2 separate regions of the Homo sapiens genome follow, and region 2 is linked to region 1. Evidence: promoter capture Hi-C in human tissues and cell types (Jung and others, 2019). All regions are on one chromosome and are shown on one strand. The core of a region is centred on a gene start or on the middle of the fragment in contact, and the rest is flanking DNA. Distances in the headings are between cores, read along the strand shown. Region 1 holds the start of NEDD4L (NEDD4 like E3 ubiquitin protein ligase). Region 2 overlaps LOC105372146 (a long non-coding RNA gene).

Region 1 (7,420 bases), core at 2,798-5,297:
ATACACCTGCTGAATAGTTCCCTTTAAGGGTTGTCCTCCCTCACCCCCAAAGAAATTGGATTACTAGGTTGGGCTAGGTGGCTCATGTCTGTAATCCCAGCACTTTGGGAGGCCGAGGCAGGTGGATCACGAGGTCAGGAGATCGAGACCATCCTGACTAACAAGGTGAAACCCCGTCTCTACTAAAAATACAAAAAATTAGCCGGGCGTGGTGGCGGGCGCCTGTAGTCCCAGCTGCTTGGGAGGCTGAGGCAGGAGAATGCCGTGAACCCAGGAGGCGGAGCTTGCAGTGAGCCGAGATCACGCCACTGCACTCCAGCCTGGGCAGCAGAGCGAGACTCCATCTCAAAAAAAAAAAAAAAAAAAAAGAAAGAAAGAAAAGAAATTGGATTACTAATCTGAGACTTCAGAGTAGATGATGGGTAAACTGATTGATGATGCTAGTCTTCTAAGTATGTTTGTTTATATTCTACCTCACTCCACAAAAGATTTGAGTGTGTTTATAACATGCAATTTCCTCTAAGTTGAAAAAAAACGAATGAAAAAACAGAGTGGTGGAAAATATATAAAGAAAAGGCATATAGGCTGGGCTCAGTAGCTCATGCCTGTAATCCTAACACTTTGGGAGGCCAAGGTGGGAGGATCACTTGAAGCCTAGAATTCGAGACCAGCCTGGGCAAGGGAGACCCCATCTCTACAAAAAACAAAAAACCTTAGCCGGTACAATGGTGTGCTCCTGTAGTCCCAGCTACTTGGGAGGCTGAGGTGGGAGGATCACTTGAGTCCTGGAGTTTGAGGGTACAGTGTGCTGTGATCATGCCACTGTTCTCCAGTCTGGACAACAGAGCAAGAACTTGTCTCTCGGGGAAAAGGAAAAGAAAAAGAAAAAAAAAAAGAATAGTAATATAAATCTAGGCCAGATGTCTCTAAACTTGGCAGTGGTGCATTAGGATCACCTGGGGAACTTTTAAAGCTCCTGATGCCCATGTGGCACCCTGTACTAATTAAATCATAACGCCTGGGAGTGGGAGGCAGAGAGGAGCAGTAGTAAAAATTCCCAAATGTTTCTATGTATAGCAAAATTTGGAAACTAAGCTGATGTTCTCAGCCTTAAATGCACATTAGCATCACCTGGGAGGCTGTTGAAACTACTGATGTCAGAATCCATTAAATCATAGCCTCTGATGCTGGTTACCGGGCACTTAGTCTATTTGAAAGCTCCCCAGGTGATTGCAATGTACATGCTGAGTAGAGAACCACAGCACTGGGGGAAAGTTGGTATATAGTTACAAAAGGGATTTTTTTTAATGGGTTCTTTTATGGCTTAAGACCATGAAACTGGTTCTGAGCTTCCTGGTGGCCAAAGTAGATAGAAAAACACAGTCGGTTTTAATAATTTTGGTCATCTGCCATGCAAAAGCTTACCAGTTTCTTGAAAGCAAAAGAGCTTTTCTTCATAGATCTGAAATAAATGTCTAGTTTATTAGTCTTCTCACAGAGGATGTTGATGTCATGGATCACGATTTTATAAACACCCCACAATAAGTGACATATGGCAAGTTTCATATTATAGTTCCTAATAACCATCCCTCAGGGAAAGACAAGGACATGACCCTGAGTGCAGGGCTATAGGCTGTTGCGGTGGGTGTGTGGGAGTAGATGATAAAAGACAGGAAGAGAAACTGCCACACCCCTCTACAGTTTCCAGATAACATAGCCTTACCCAAAGGCGAAGCCTGGAATTGTGTACCTCCAGGATGTGGAAGGCGTGTCCTGTGTAATTAGAAATTATAATTTTCTATCAGCACATTTTAAGAATTATTTATTTATGTATTTATTTATTTAGAGACACAGGGTCTTTCTCTGTCATCCAGGCTGGAGTGCAATGGCACGATCATAGCTCACTGTAACCTTGAACTTCTGGGCTCAAGTGAACCTCTAGTCTTAGCCTCCTGAGTAGCTAGGACTATGGGCCCATGCCACCACACCTGGCAAATTTTTAATTTTTTTTTTTTTTTGTAGGGACAGGGGTCTCTCTATATTGCCCAGGCTGGTCTCGAACTCCTGGCCTCAAATGATCCTCCTGCCTCTGCCTCCCAAAATGCTAGCATTATTATTCAATTACTTTTCTTCCTTTATAATATAAACTGTACAAATTTTACAAAGGTTTGGCTAGTGAGGGTAGGTAGAGAAGCACTGACTCCCATCCATGAGGGTCACAGGCTAGGGCAAGGGCATCTGAGAATGCGTGTGTGTGTGTGTGTGTGTGTGTGAGAGAGAGAGAGAGAAAGACAGAGTGTGCACGTGTACCTTTTGTTTATCAAAAGACTTTAGGGTTGTTTTTTTTTGTTTTTGTTTTTTTTGAGACGGAGTCTCGCTCTGTGGTCCAGGCTGGAGTGCAGTGGCGCAGTCTCGGCTCACTGCAACCTCCGCCTCCCAGGTTCAAGGGATCCTCATGCCTCAGCCTCCCCGAGTAGCTGGGATTACAGGCGCCCGCCACCACGCCTGGGTAATTTTTGTATTTTTAGTAGAGATGGAGTTTCACCACATTGGCCAGCTGGTCTTGAACTACCGATCTTATGATCCGCCCGCCTCAGCCTCCCAAAGTGCTGGGATTACAGGTTTGAGCCACCGTGCCCGGTCTAAAGACTCGAGGTTTGAAAGGGTTGAAAAACCTCAGTATTGAAAGAATGGACAGAAATCTGACTTTTAAATAGTCCTCCATAAATAGTTCTCATTGGGGGTTTTGTGGCCTGTAAGTACTGTGGACTTGACGGCTCAAGACTTCTAGAGAAGGCTTCTGAGTAGGATGTTGACTCCATGGGGCTAAGTCGTCAAAGGAAACCCATTCTACGGCACAGGTTTTAAGCCAGTCATGCTGCAGGAAGGCAAAGGAGAGCTTAAGGTAGCATGGGTGGGCTCTTTTGAAAACGAACTAGCAGGGCGAACAGCAGATATTTAGTTATGTAGCTGGCAACGAGGAATATGATTCCTTCGGGTCACGCGAGTTCTCTCTGAACTTCCTTGAATGAAAATCCTAAATGCATCCTGGTAATACCCAAGTAGGCACTTTGACGTTTCCTTTTCAAAGGCAAATGGAATGTTCTGCGTCTGTTTTCTTTTTGAACTCCCAACTGCACTTAACATCTAAATTTAAGGAAAGGCTTCCGAAAAAGTCGACTGACGAATTTCTTTCACTTATTTAAAGTAGTCTCTTGCAGTCCTATAAATCGGAAGGATTAAATGAACTGCTTGCTAGAGAAACGGTAGCTGGGTGGTGGGAAGAATCCTACGGTGGCTAATAAGACGTCTCGATCATTTGCATATGCAAAGGATAACCTTAAGCTTGAGTTTGATATTTCACGTTGCGGCTCACAAATGAACTGCTTTTTATTCAAAGAACCATGCTGTCTGTTTTCGCGTGGGTGGGTGTGTAACCGGGGCGGGCGCTATGTTGGTTTTGTTCCCTGCAAGGTTGACACAGGCAATGGCGACTTGCGGCCACACTGGGGCAGCCTCTCCTCGGCTGGCAGCCGGGCCGGGCGGCTCGCTCCCGGGAGCTGACAATGTAGCCAAGTCCTGCTCGTCGGGGCCGCAAAGAATTTAAAGGGGTCTAGAAACATCCATCTTTTCCCCTTTTCACAGTTAACAGCGAGCTCAGGGCTCTCGGTAAAAAGACCACCGGGAGGAAGAAACGCTCAGGGCGTTTTTGTTATTGTTCGCAAAATCCTCTATCGCCCCCAAACGTCCAGCCCGCCCCCTCCCTAAAGCGGAGGGAAACCGGGAGAGGAGGGAGGGTCGGCGGCGCCGGCCAAGCGCGCCAGTACACGCCCCTGCGGATCCGCCCCGCGGCCGGGTGACCCCCGCCGCGCCGCGCTGGAGGCCCCGGGCCGGGGTGGGCGTGGGGCTGAACTCCGCCACCCCCGCAGCCCGCGGCCCGCTCGCCAGCCCGGCCTGTGATTGGCTTGGGGGGCGCGTGTGCCCGCCCCGGCGAACGGGGAGGGTACCCTCGCGGCGCCGGTGGGAGGAGGCGGAGGAGGGGGCGGAGAGAGCGGGGGCCCGGACGGCGCTAGCGAGGAGGCGGGCGAGCCGGGTCCCCGGGAGCGCAGAGGAGGCTCGGAGGGGGGCGGAGAGCGGCGGGGCGGGAGGGAGGCGCGGGTCGCGGGGAGGGAAAGCCCGGCCGGGTCTGCGCCGCCGCCGCGCGCAGTGAGAGGCGCCGGGGCTGCCGCCCGGTGCTCGGCGCGCTCTCGGGAGCCGCCCGCCCGCTGGTCCCGCAGCCTTCCGGGAGGAAGCGGTGCCGGCAGCGTCCAGGGCGCGCTCTCGGGCACCCTCACCTGCCGGCGCCCGGCCGCTTACCCGGCAGGGCGTGCGCAGGGTAGGGTGCGGGACCGGGGGGACCTGGAGGCAGAGGGGAGAACCGGCCGTCCGCGCCGCAGCACAGCCGCTGGGAGCGCCTCAGACCCCGCGCGGGGCGCCGGCTCCATGGCGACCGGGCTCGGGGAGCCGGTCTATGGACTTTCCGAAGACGAGGTGAGTGGCACCCCCTTCCTGCTCGGGACTCCCCGGGGAGTTCCTATCCCGCGCCGGCAGGGGGAGGGGAAAGGGGCCGTCCCCGGGGTGCTCGTGCCCAGCGTCTGCAGGGGAGCCCCAAAGCGGGAGCGCCCCGGAGCGGGATCCAGGGGAGCTTGGGTCCTTCCGCACCCCCCACCCTCCGCAAGCCGAGCTCATTGTTTGTAAATAAAGCGGCGCGACGCCCTTGGAGCTGGGGGTTCACTCCGCAGCTCCTCGCTTTCGGGAGGAGAGGGAGGGGGCATGCGTGCCTCTCTTCCCTCTTCCTCTCCAAGCAGCGTCTCCCGGGGCTGTTGGGCAACTTTCCGCCTCTCGCCCCTGCAGCCCGGGAGTCCATGATGCATGTCACGTCTGGGTCGCGCGGCTGGAGACCCGGGACTGCGGAGAAGCCGGATCGTTTCCCCCTGGAACTTTCTCTCTCATGATTGTGTGGATCAGCAGGCGCTCAGAAGCCTGTGCGTGCTTATCCCGGCGGGAATGGGGGACACGCTGCGTGTGTCCCTCCCCTCGTTTTGCAAAGTCTACGGCCAGGATTGTGGATTTCGGAGCCTCGGTGGGGGAGGTGTTCAAGGCTGGTGGCAGGTGCTCCTGGAAACTTGGGGAGGAAGCTTGCAGCCCTGCCATTTTTTCCTCCCGAGGATTCAAAGCCCGGCACCTCCAGGGTGGGTGGGGAGAGGAAAGCTTAATTGATCTCTTTTATTAATAAAGCGACTGAATAAGCCACGCCTCCCAGGCGGTCGGTTTCACTGGAAAGGGCTTTGTTTTTACCTTCATTCTCTCTTCCGTGTCTCCCACTCCCCCCTTTTGAAACAATCCTGCTAAATCACTGCCTAGTCCTCTCTCGACCAGCCACGCTCGGCTCTTATTGGTATGTTGCTCTGCCAAAAAGGGGGGTGGGACGCTTGTCGCGGGCGCGGCGTGACAGGCAGGCTGGATGGAGCAGGTAGGAGTGGTTTGCCATCTGGCGGGGTGCGCGCTCAGGTCTGGCTCCCCTTTCGAGAGGTGAATTTTACAACCCAAGAAGCATTACTCAGCAGGGAGGTATTTCCTATCCTGGTTGTGCATTTCATGAAAAGTTGATGCCTGGAAATTCAGGCGTTCTCGATTTCTCTTTCTTCCCCTCCCTCCTTTCTTTTCAGAGGTTCCCTCTTTCTCTCGTGTTGGGGGTGGGGTTGGAAGAAAGGCTATTATCTGAGACAGGCTCGCGTTATGGCTCCGCTTTCTGCGGCTCTCCTACCCTGGCATGGTGTGTGTGTGTGCCTGTGTGCTACGTAAGTGTGGAATGAAAGGTATTTTGGGGTGGGAAGGGTGTTTAGGGTATGAATTTTTTTCTTAGCGGTGCTAGGCAAAGCTTGATGTATTTATTTGATCAAAGAATGATCACAGTGCAAATAATGTGTGATTTGTGTGTTTATTTTGCCTCGCTGTGCTTTTGTAAAATAATTTCCCGTTTTGTGTAACTACCTGGGGATAGGTGACAGTAGCATTGTTTCATTGACCCGGGGGGCTTCTCCTCTCCCTCCTGGCTTCTCTCTTTGAGGAGCTTTCCCTTGCATCCTCTACTTCTCCATTTAATTAGTGGCAGTAGAGGGCAGGCCCTGAGTTGCAGAGACGCAGACATTCCTAAACAAAGGGGCTGCTTGGGTTGACGTATTGTGGGGGGTGGGGGTGAGGACAGCTGCATTTCATCCTAGGTTCTTTTAAAAAATGTTTTAATAACATGATTATTTGTAAAAACTCCCCCGAAAAAACGATTTTAAGAGTGTTTTGGGAAGTGCAGCTGGATAAATGAAACACGTTAATGTCACTGTTGTTTGTGCTTTATTTACATTGGCAGTGAGTGTCAGAATCTACCTAGAGCACATCTTGCCACTTTTGTCCACAGGAGTCACTACTAATCATCATAACTGATGTCTAGTGTGAAAGTGAAGCTTGGAATGTAAACAGAGTCCGAGTGTGTGTTGGCATGTGACTGGATTCACTCCTGCATGTTGCTAGAAGGGAATTTGGGGCTGTATAGGAAATAGCAAGAGGTGATGAAGACACCTTTTATTATCTATTTATTGCCATGTCGCTGGTAGTATTTAGTTCCACACACATTGTATTTCACAAGATGAGTCTCAGCCGTCTTCCTTTTTCAACTTTCTCCTACCAGTGAAAAAATAAGCCAGGGCAGTTCTGATGACTTCACATTTCATTGGTATTTGTTTTTCATGGGCAGTTTCATGCTGTCACGTTGCCCTTCAGAGAATCAGGGAATGCCTTCGTAGAATATTAACGACAAATTGTTGAATTTGCACAGCTTGTTTTGTCTCCCTGAATTAGTATGTGTAAGAAAAACCAATGGAAGATTTTAGCAGGCTCTGAAAGTAGAATGCCCGCTGAAGCAAACGGCAGGGTTGTTCTTCCAAGGCGTATTAAATATGGGTACACTTAGTTTGCAGACTTGGTGTGCTGCAGAATATCACATATGAAGATATTTTGACCGCTATTTAGAAGAGTGACCTCATAAATCTTTTAGCAAAGTAGACACACATACCTACCACATTTCTTAAAAGTAGATTCGTATTTTGATTTGAGATTGTTGAAAAGCATGGTATGTTTGGAGTGCACTTAGTTATGTCCCATCTCATAAAGACTGTTGAGCTCTCTGCACTGCTGATGATGAAGCATTGCATGAACCCAGAAAACGGGGATGCCAAAGCACAGGGCTTAGGTGCTGTTCCTTGCGTCATCAGCAGAGGTCTGTCCACTTTGTAGAAGGTAAGGGGTTGAGATGTGGGCTTTGCTTGTGTGAATGTATGTGCTGTTTAATTTTTTCTGTGTGTTTCGGGCGGAGGTTTCTCTGGTG
Region 2 (7,619 bases), core at 1,339-3,838, 720 kb after region 1:
AGGTCTCAAACTTACCCTGGCTAGACTGAACCAGAACATTTTTCCGTTTCTTTTCCGTAAATTAATGTTTAAAAGTTCCCCTCCCCACATAATCCCAATCTCACTTTCAAGAGATAATGCTATCTCTTCAGTGTATATTTCTTCCGGTTGTATTATGCATATAAATCTCCAGACCATATGGACACACACACACATATGCACACACACGTATGAGTATTATACACATACATGTGTACAGATATCTTTTATACATGTATACACACAGGTGTACACATATGTGCATATGTGAGATCATGCTGAGCTCACCGTTTTCCAGTTCCTACTTTCACTTCACAATAGCTCTTGGCCATCTTCCACCACAGTGTATTTAGAGTGACTCTATAAATAGAACGATTTCTAATGCACCTTTCAGATTTCAACTCTTTAAATAAATGCGACAAGGGCACATCTCGTGGTCCAAGGTCGTGACTGCTAAGGCCCAGAGAACACAACAAATTTGCTGGCTTCAGCCGTGCTGACCTGCTGGAAGATGGGTACAGGCTCCTAAGTGGATGCTGCCATTTGTGCGCCTCCCAGCCACGCACCCCACCCTCATATACACACTATCCCTTGAGGAACATTTACCTTCCTTCCCGCCCCAGGTGTTTGTGACTTGGTGGGTAGTGGGTGACAGAGATGCACCTGTGTCTTCAGAACACAGGCCACTGAAGGACAGCAGGCCCGGGGCTGGTGGGGGCCTGAGCATGCCCTCCCTCACCAGGCTGACCAGGCTTGCATGCAGTGGGGCAGAGGCAGTGGAACTATCCAGAAAACATGCCCATCCCCCCGCCCAAGCCATCACAATGGGAGCTGAGTACAGGGTCACTAGGACAAAGAGTGAATGGAACCATCTTGAAAACAGCGGTGATGTTTCCTGTCTCCGCTGGCACAGGCCTCCGTGGAGCCCACGTTCTTTTCACAGAGTTCAAGTTGCTCAAAGAAATAAGGAGAGGCCACTTGTGAGCAGTGGTCCTCCAGGTGAAACCCAGAGGGCGTCGGGATGCCCACAGGTTCCTCAGGAAACTCATGCGGGGAGACATGGGGGTGCCAGGGACACGCCTCCACCCCACCATGGCTGCCCATAGCAGGGTCCGTGGCAAAGGGACCAGGTGGCCCATGGGTTAGTGGGAGCAGATGCCCAACCACCTCCTCCAGGCCCCACTGCCCCCTTGGGCCACCACAGAGACCTCCAACTTCTCCATCCTCTCTGTCTCTCCCTCTCTCTCCCCACTTGCTCTCTTCCTCAAGGGCCCTTTCCCTGTCAACTACCACTGGCACCCGGCTGGAGGAACAGGGCAGGTTTGCCTGTTAGTACCTGCGGCAACTCATCCCCCAGCCCCTAACTTTGAGGCGATCCCATTTTCCTCCTGTATTCCCTGAGCTTGACACAGCTGAATGTGGAAGACCCCAGGGCAACAAGAGGCTTGGGAAGGAAGGTCACACTGGAGTCGCGGGGGAAGGGTCACCCAGGCACAGGTACTCAGCATAGACTGCAGATGCTGGCCAGCCAGTCCTACACCCAGCTTACTGCAGAGGCACGACCACACTTCTGCTGCAAGGCTGGGGGAGACTCTGTGGTTTCGGTGAGGAAGAGGACAAGGAGGTGAGCGAGCCAGGAACAGCCCCCGCATGTCTCTTATCACGCCTTCATTCCCCTCTCCCCGCAGCACTGAGCTTCTGTGTTTTCTTTCCCCCAAGACTGTTCTCTCGGCTGCTGGTGGCAAAGGAGAGGGCTGCGGGGGAAGGAGAGAGAAAGGGGGGACCCCAGATGATCCTCCTATTCCCTAAGCTCTCAAAGTCTTCAGATATCTACAGCTTTGCTGCTCTAACCGCTCATTGTGAAAAGAATGAGTCTTATACTTGAATACAACCCTAAAATCAAAAGAATGACATCTAACCCGCTGTTCACCATAAATCTTTTTTTTTTTTAATTTTTGAGACAGAATCTCACTCTATCACCCAGGCTGGAGTGCAGTGGCATGATCTCGGCTCACTCCAACTTCTGCCTCCTGGGTTCAATTGATTCTCCTACCTCAGCTTCCTCAGTAGCTGGGATTAGGGGTGTGCACCACCATGCCCAGCTGATTTTTGCATTTTTAGTAGCAACGGGATTTCACCATGTTGGCCAGGCTGGTCTCAAACTCCTAACCTCAAGTAATCTGTCTACCTTGGCGTCCTAAATTGCTGGGATTACAGGCGTGAGCCACAGCGCCCAGCTCGGCCCATAAATAATTTAAAAGACTGCATTTCTACTGTCTGACTCCATTTCTGTGAAGAGTCCAGGAAAGGCAAATCTCTAGTGATAGGGTAGGCTACCAGGGACTGGGGGCCCGGGAAGGTGGGAGAAACCGGAAGGGACTGCCAATGGGTATGGGGACTCTTTTAGGGTGATAAAAAAATGTTCTAAAATTGATTGTGATGATCAATGATCTACAAATATACTAAATTGGTGAATGTCTGGCATGTGAATTATTTCTCAATAAAGCTGGTTTCTTTTAGAGAAAGTAGTTCAAAATTTCTGAGGCTGTTTGGTTTTTGTTTTTTTAAAAAAGCAAATCATTGGCCCCGGCGTGGTAGCTCACGCCTGTAATCCCAGCACTTTAGGAAGCTGAGGTAGGCAGATCACTTGAGGGTCAGGAGTTCGAGACCAGCCTGGCTAACATGGTGAAACCCCATCTCTACTAAAAATACAAAAATTAGCCAGGTGCAGTGGCACACACCTGTAGTCCCAGCTACTTGGGAGGCTAAAGCAGGAGAACTGCTGGAACCCAGGAGGTGGAGCCACTGCACTCCAGCTATGAGAGGATAAATGCCCACTATTGTAAGGCCCAAGCTAGTGGTAATTTATTAGAACAACCCTAGGAAACTAATGCAGAAAGGCGGAGGGGAACCGCAAGCTCCTTTGTGATCCACCCCTTTGTCTTCCGAAAGGCTTCGTTTAGATTCAGAGCCTTCTGTTGCAGTCTCTTGCTCCCCCTCCTGGCTCAAAGGAAGAACTGTGCCCCCTTCAGTCCCACGGAGATTTGATCTCTCTAATGAAGTGGGAGGAGAGAGGAGTTCGCAAAACTTAGAAATGCTGTTGCAAGAAAAAAAAATTTTTTTTTAGACAGGGTGTCTGTCACCCAGGCTGGAGTGCAGTGGCTTGATCACGGCTCACTGCAGCCTCGACCGCCAGGGCTCAAGTGATTCTCCACTATGCCCCGCTAATTTTGTTTATTTTTTGTAGGGATGGGTCTTGCTATATTGCCCAGGCTGGTCTTAAACTCCTGGGCTCAAGCAATTCTCCCACCTCAGCCTCTCAAAGTGCTGGGATTATAGGTGTAAGCCACCGTGCCTAGCAGAAAAAATAATTTTAATGGTGCATTATTTTCCCATCTTGAGAGAAGAGTGAAGACTTAGCACTTGACCTGAAAGCTTAGCTCCATCCTATGCCCTCATCATTCCTGGTAATTTCAACTCCACGTTGATGACCCACACAATTCTTCTCTTGGCTCTTTGGCTTCCTCATCCACAGAGACTTCTTGTAACCCAACCATACACCACCCAAGAGATATCCTGGACCTTGTCATCACAAAAATTACACTCTTCCAAAATCATGGATTTAAATTTTGTCCTCTCTGATTACAAAGCCCTATCTTTCAGCCCACTTTCTCAAGTGCCCCTTCAATATCACAAGTCACCAGAATCAAGATGCTAACACTTGACCCCTCTTATTTCACTCAAATCTCGACTTATTTTCTTGTCTAACCAGATTCTTTGTTTCGTCTATTCGCTCTCACAAACACCAACTCCCCTGATCCATTCTTTTACTTTCAACTGGCAAAACTCCAACCCCCACCAACTTCCACACACTTCTCTCTACTTAAGCCCCTCATTCTCCTTCTCCTCCTACCCTCCCACTCCTGAGAGCCTTGCTTCACCCGTCACTGAAAAACTGAAGCCATCACAGCGTATTATTAACCCTCTTGCATCGATAGTTTTCTTTCTTCCTGTTACAATGGAGGACTTGTCACTCCTGTCTAACCCCTCCACGTAGACTCTGGGTTGCATCCCCTTTTATTTATTTTCTTTTAGAGACAGGTTCTCACTCTCTAGCCCAGGCTAGAGTACAGTGGTATAATCATAGCTCACTGCAGCCTCAACCTCCTGGGCTCAAGCAATCCTCCCACCTCAGCCTCCCGAGTAGCTGGACTATAAGCACATGTCACCATGCCCAGCTAATTTATTTTTATTTTTGTAGACAGGGTCTTGCTATGTCACCCAGGCTGGTCTCAACCTCCTGGGCTCAAGTGATCCTCCCATCTCAGCCTCCCAAAGTGCTCGGATTACAGGTGTGAGCCACCATGCCCAGCCTCTCCATCTCCTTTTTGTCTTTCCTAAATTTCATTTCTTTGGTTATCTCCCCTCTAATATGATCAATATGCCTCATTTTGACCAATTATTCTCACTGGCACACAGGCATGCTGTCAGAGCCAGCTTCGTGGGCATGAGACCTCTACAGACACACAGCACCCTGTGCCTGGTTTAATATTCTGCCGTCACTGTTTTTAAATTCTTAATAATTTTTTAACAAGGAGCCAGTCCTGCCTGCTCTAGTATCTGCCATTTTCTCTGCTTCCCCTCTCTAAACTGCCAAAACAGAGCCTAGGTGAGCCATCTCTATTTCTACTTGTATCTCTACTTTGTCACTTTTACTAATTCTGTTTTTTTAGACAGAGTCTTATTCTGTCATCCAGGTTGAAGTGCGGTGGCGCAATCACAGTGAGCTCAAGAGATCCTCCCACCTCAGCCTCCCAATTAGCTGGGACCACAAGCATGTGCCACTATGCCTGGCTAATTTTTAAATTTTTGTAGACATGGGGTCTCACTGTGTTGCCCAGGCTGGTCTCCAAATCCTAGAATCAAGGGATCCACCCACCTTGGCCTCCCAAAGTGCTGGGATTACAGGCATCAGAGCCACTGCACCCAGTCCACTTTTACTAACTCTGAAAGTGTTTCAATCCCAACACTTTTCTCCTAAAAACAAAAAACCATCCTCGTCAATGTTTCCATATGGCCTCAATTTGGTGACATTCAAAGAACCTTTTCTGAAGCCATCCCTGAAGACTCTCCTCTTGCAGTTCTCCACTTTATTCTCCAACCTGGCAGCCTGTTGCTTTCATTCCCAGCATTTTTCTCATGCAAAGTTGTATAATTGTGAACGTGTTTTTTGCCTTCTTTCACTCTAAGCTCTGTGGGCAGACATCATGTGTCCTCGTCCCTGACACAGTCCCTGACGCTCAGTGGATGTTTACTGAGTGAATAAATGAGGGAATGGATGTGCAAGAGAGTTCAAGAACTTGAAAAAAGTTCAAGGGATCAGTAATGTATACACTCAGGAAAATTTTTAAAAGCTAGAAAGATCTGATAGTAAAAGGAGAGGCAAAAAAACTGGATAACCTGGAAAGAAAATGAGCAAATAAAAAATCATTTACATTACGATACCTGGAAGGATAGGTGGGCGTTGTCAGAAGGTGGAATACTGAAGTGTAAGATTTCGAAAACACTTCTGCTAGTGTAAGTGCTGGCCAGTTCTGGGGTGGTCATGAGTGGGGGTGGATTGAGTAAATTGGAAGTGAAGGTCACTGGGATTCAGATCGAGGAACTGATCTGAGGTTGCTGGATAGGTTGCTCAAATGGCTATTCAAGTCATCAGATGAACAGGAGAAGTTGAAGTCAAAGGGAAGACGTTGCAGTGAGTACAGTGGCACGTGCCTGTAGTCCCAGCTACTAGGGAGGCTGAGGCAGGAGGATCCCTTGAGGCCAGGAGTTCGAGGCTGCAGTGAGCCATGACCACTCCTGTGAACAGCCACTGCACTCCAGCCTGGGCAACATACTGAGATACCCCACATTTTCAGTGAATAATCTTGACTAACACTTATAAAGTGCCTACTATGTGCCAGATACTATTCTAAGTGCTTTGCATATATTTATATATTCTATATACAAATAATATTAACAACAACCCTATGAAGCATATTACTGTTATCATCCCCAGTTTATAGATGAAAAATTGAGGCAAGAGAGGAAACTCTGGGGCTTGGCGAGGTGGCTCACGCCTGTAATCCCAGCACTGTGAGAGGCCAAGACAGGCAGATCATCTGAGGTCAAGAGTTCAAGACCAGTCTGGCCAACATGGTGAAACCCCATCTCTACTAAAAATACAAAAAAATTAGCCAGGCGTGGTAGTGTGCAGCTGTAATCCCAGCTACTTGGGAGGCTGAGGCAGGAGAACTGCTTGAACCTGGGAGGCGGAGGTTACAACCAGCAGAGATCGCACCACTGTACTCCAGCCTGGGCGACAGAGCAAGACTCCATCTTAAAAAAAAAAAAAAAGAGAGAGAGAGAGAGAGAGGAAACTCGGCCAAGGTCAGACAGCTAGCAAATAGTAGAGCTGGGAAAGGACTCCGGCTGTGTGGCTCCAGAGCGCAAGGCCTCTGGTCTCGACAGGAAGATGACAGACATAAGAGACCATAATGCTGGGGGTTAAAAGGTGGAAGAGAAGCAGGAACCAGATCTGAAGTCCTTTGTATTTCATGCTGAGTTTTGTAATGACCCTCTTGGCAATTGGCAGACTTTGAAGGAGGTCAGGCCAGGGCATGACAGAATCAGATTAATGTTCTGGAAAGATCTGTCTGGCTGCAGAGTCAGACGGGAATGAATGGTCTGGAGGCGGGAGGGCCCTTCAGAGCCTCTTGCAACAAAGAGGGACTGATAGTGGGCAGGCGCCTACACCTCTGCTTTGGAAAGGAAATGGGGCAGGTGGCAATGTCGGAAAAGGAGCCCAGGACGGCACAGCCTGCAGGAGCCGCAGCCGCCCCATGGGGACAGTTCGAGCTCACCCGGTCCCTAGGCAAGAGAGCACAGTCCTGGCCACCTAGCCCAGAGGGCATGATGGGCCCAGCGAGAAACCCTGGGGCCCCCGCGCGGGGACTGCTCGAAGTCCGCCCGGGGGCCTTGGGAGCTGGGTGCACCCCTTAGAGGAGCCCGGCTTCGTGGGCCCCAGCCTGGCCTTGGGTCTCCCTTCGCCTTCTGAGCTCGGGGCCGGCCGGGAGCTGGGTACCCAGCAGAGGGCAGCACAGGCTTGCGTTCGTCCCGGTCTGAGCGCCGTCTGCACCTGCCCGGGGCCCTGCAGCTGCGCAGCGCACGGAGCAGTGGTGCGCTCTCACCCACCCGCGAGCTCCCACGCACATCCAGGTCCTCCCCGTCCAGCTCGTGGCTCAATACAATACCTAGAAGGCCTGGGGGCCCTCAGGAAGACCGAGGGACAGCAGCCAGCGCGGCTGGGATGACAGCCAGACTCGGGCATGCATCAACAGGCCAGGACAAGTGGCCGGCTCCCTCCTCTCCCATGCCCATGCCTGTGATGCTGCCAAAGGGCAGAGAAATATCAAAAAGCTCCACCGAATCTCCTGGGAGGGAGGCCCCTGCCTTGAGAACAGTCAACCAGATACCCATCTGGGGCCCCTGGGGCAGGGGGCAGGGCACGGAAGCAAAAGCGTTTAGATTCTAGCGGAGTTTTGAAAACTACCCACCCAGCA

The links. The method cuts DNA at HindIII sites, captures the fragments that hold promoters and counts their contacts. A contact is called where the count stands out against the background at its distance.
Region 2: a fragment that was not itself captured here is called in contact with the fragment with the promoter of NEDD4L in region 1 in 1 of the 25 tissues and cell types used here (lymphoblastoid cells).

The regions. Positions count from the first base shown.
Region 1 is chr18:58,040,179-58,047,598 of GRCh38, forward strand. It overlaps NEDD4L (NEDD4 like E3 ubiquitin protein ligase), which reads left to right and starts at 4,048. Exons shown (of 31, transcript NM_001144967.3): 1 at 4,048-4,530. The coding sequence starts at 4,483. RefSeq lists a cis regulatory region at 1,441-1,853 and silencers at 3,743-4,112, 4,133-4,682. The HindIII fragment of the contact is 3,203 bases long and covers 2,383-5,585 here.
Region 2 is chr18:58,761,458-58,769,076 of GRCh38, forward strand. All of the region lies in intron 1 of LOC105372146 (a long non-coding RNA gene), which reads right to left. Among named protein-coding and RNA genes, the nearest start is that of LINC01926, 49 kb to the right of the region's middle. RefSeq lists enhancers at 526-575, 2,697-2,966, 7,315-7,464 and a silencer at 7,085-7,234. The HindIII fragment of the contact is 6,881 bases long and covers 1-6,029 here.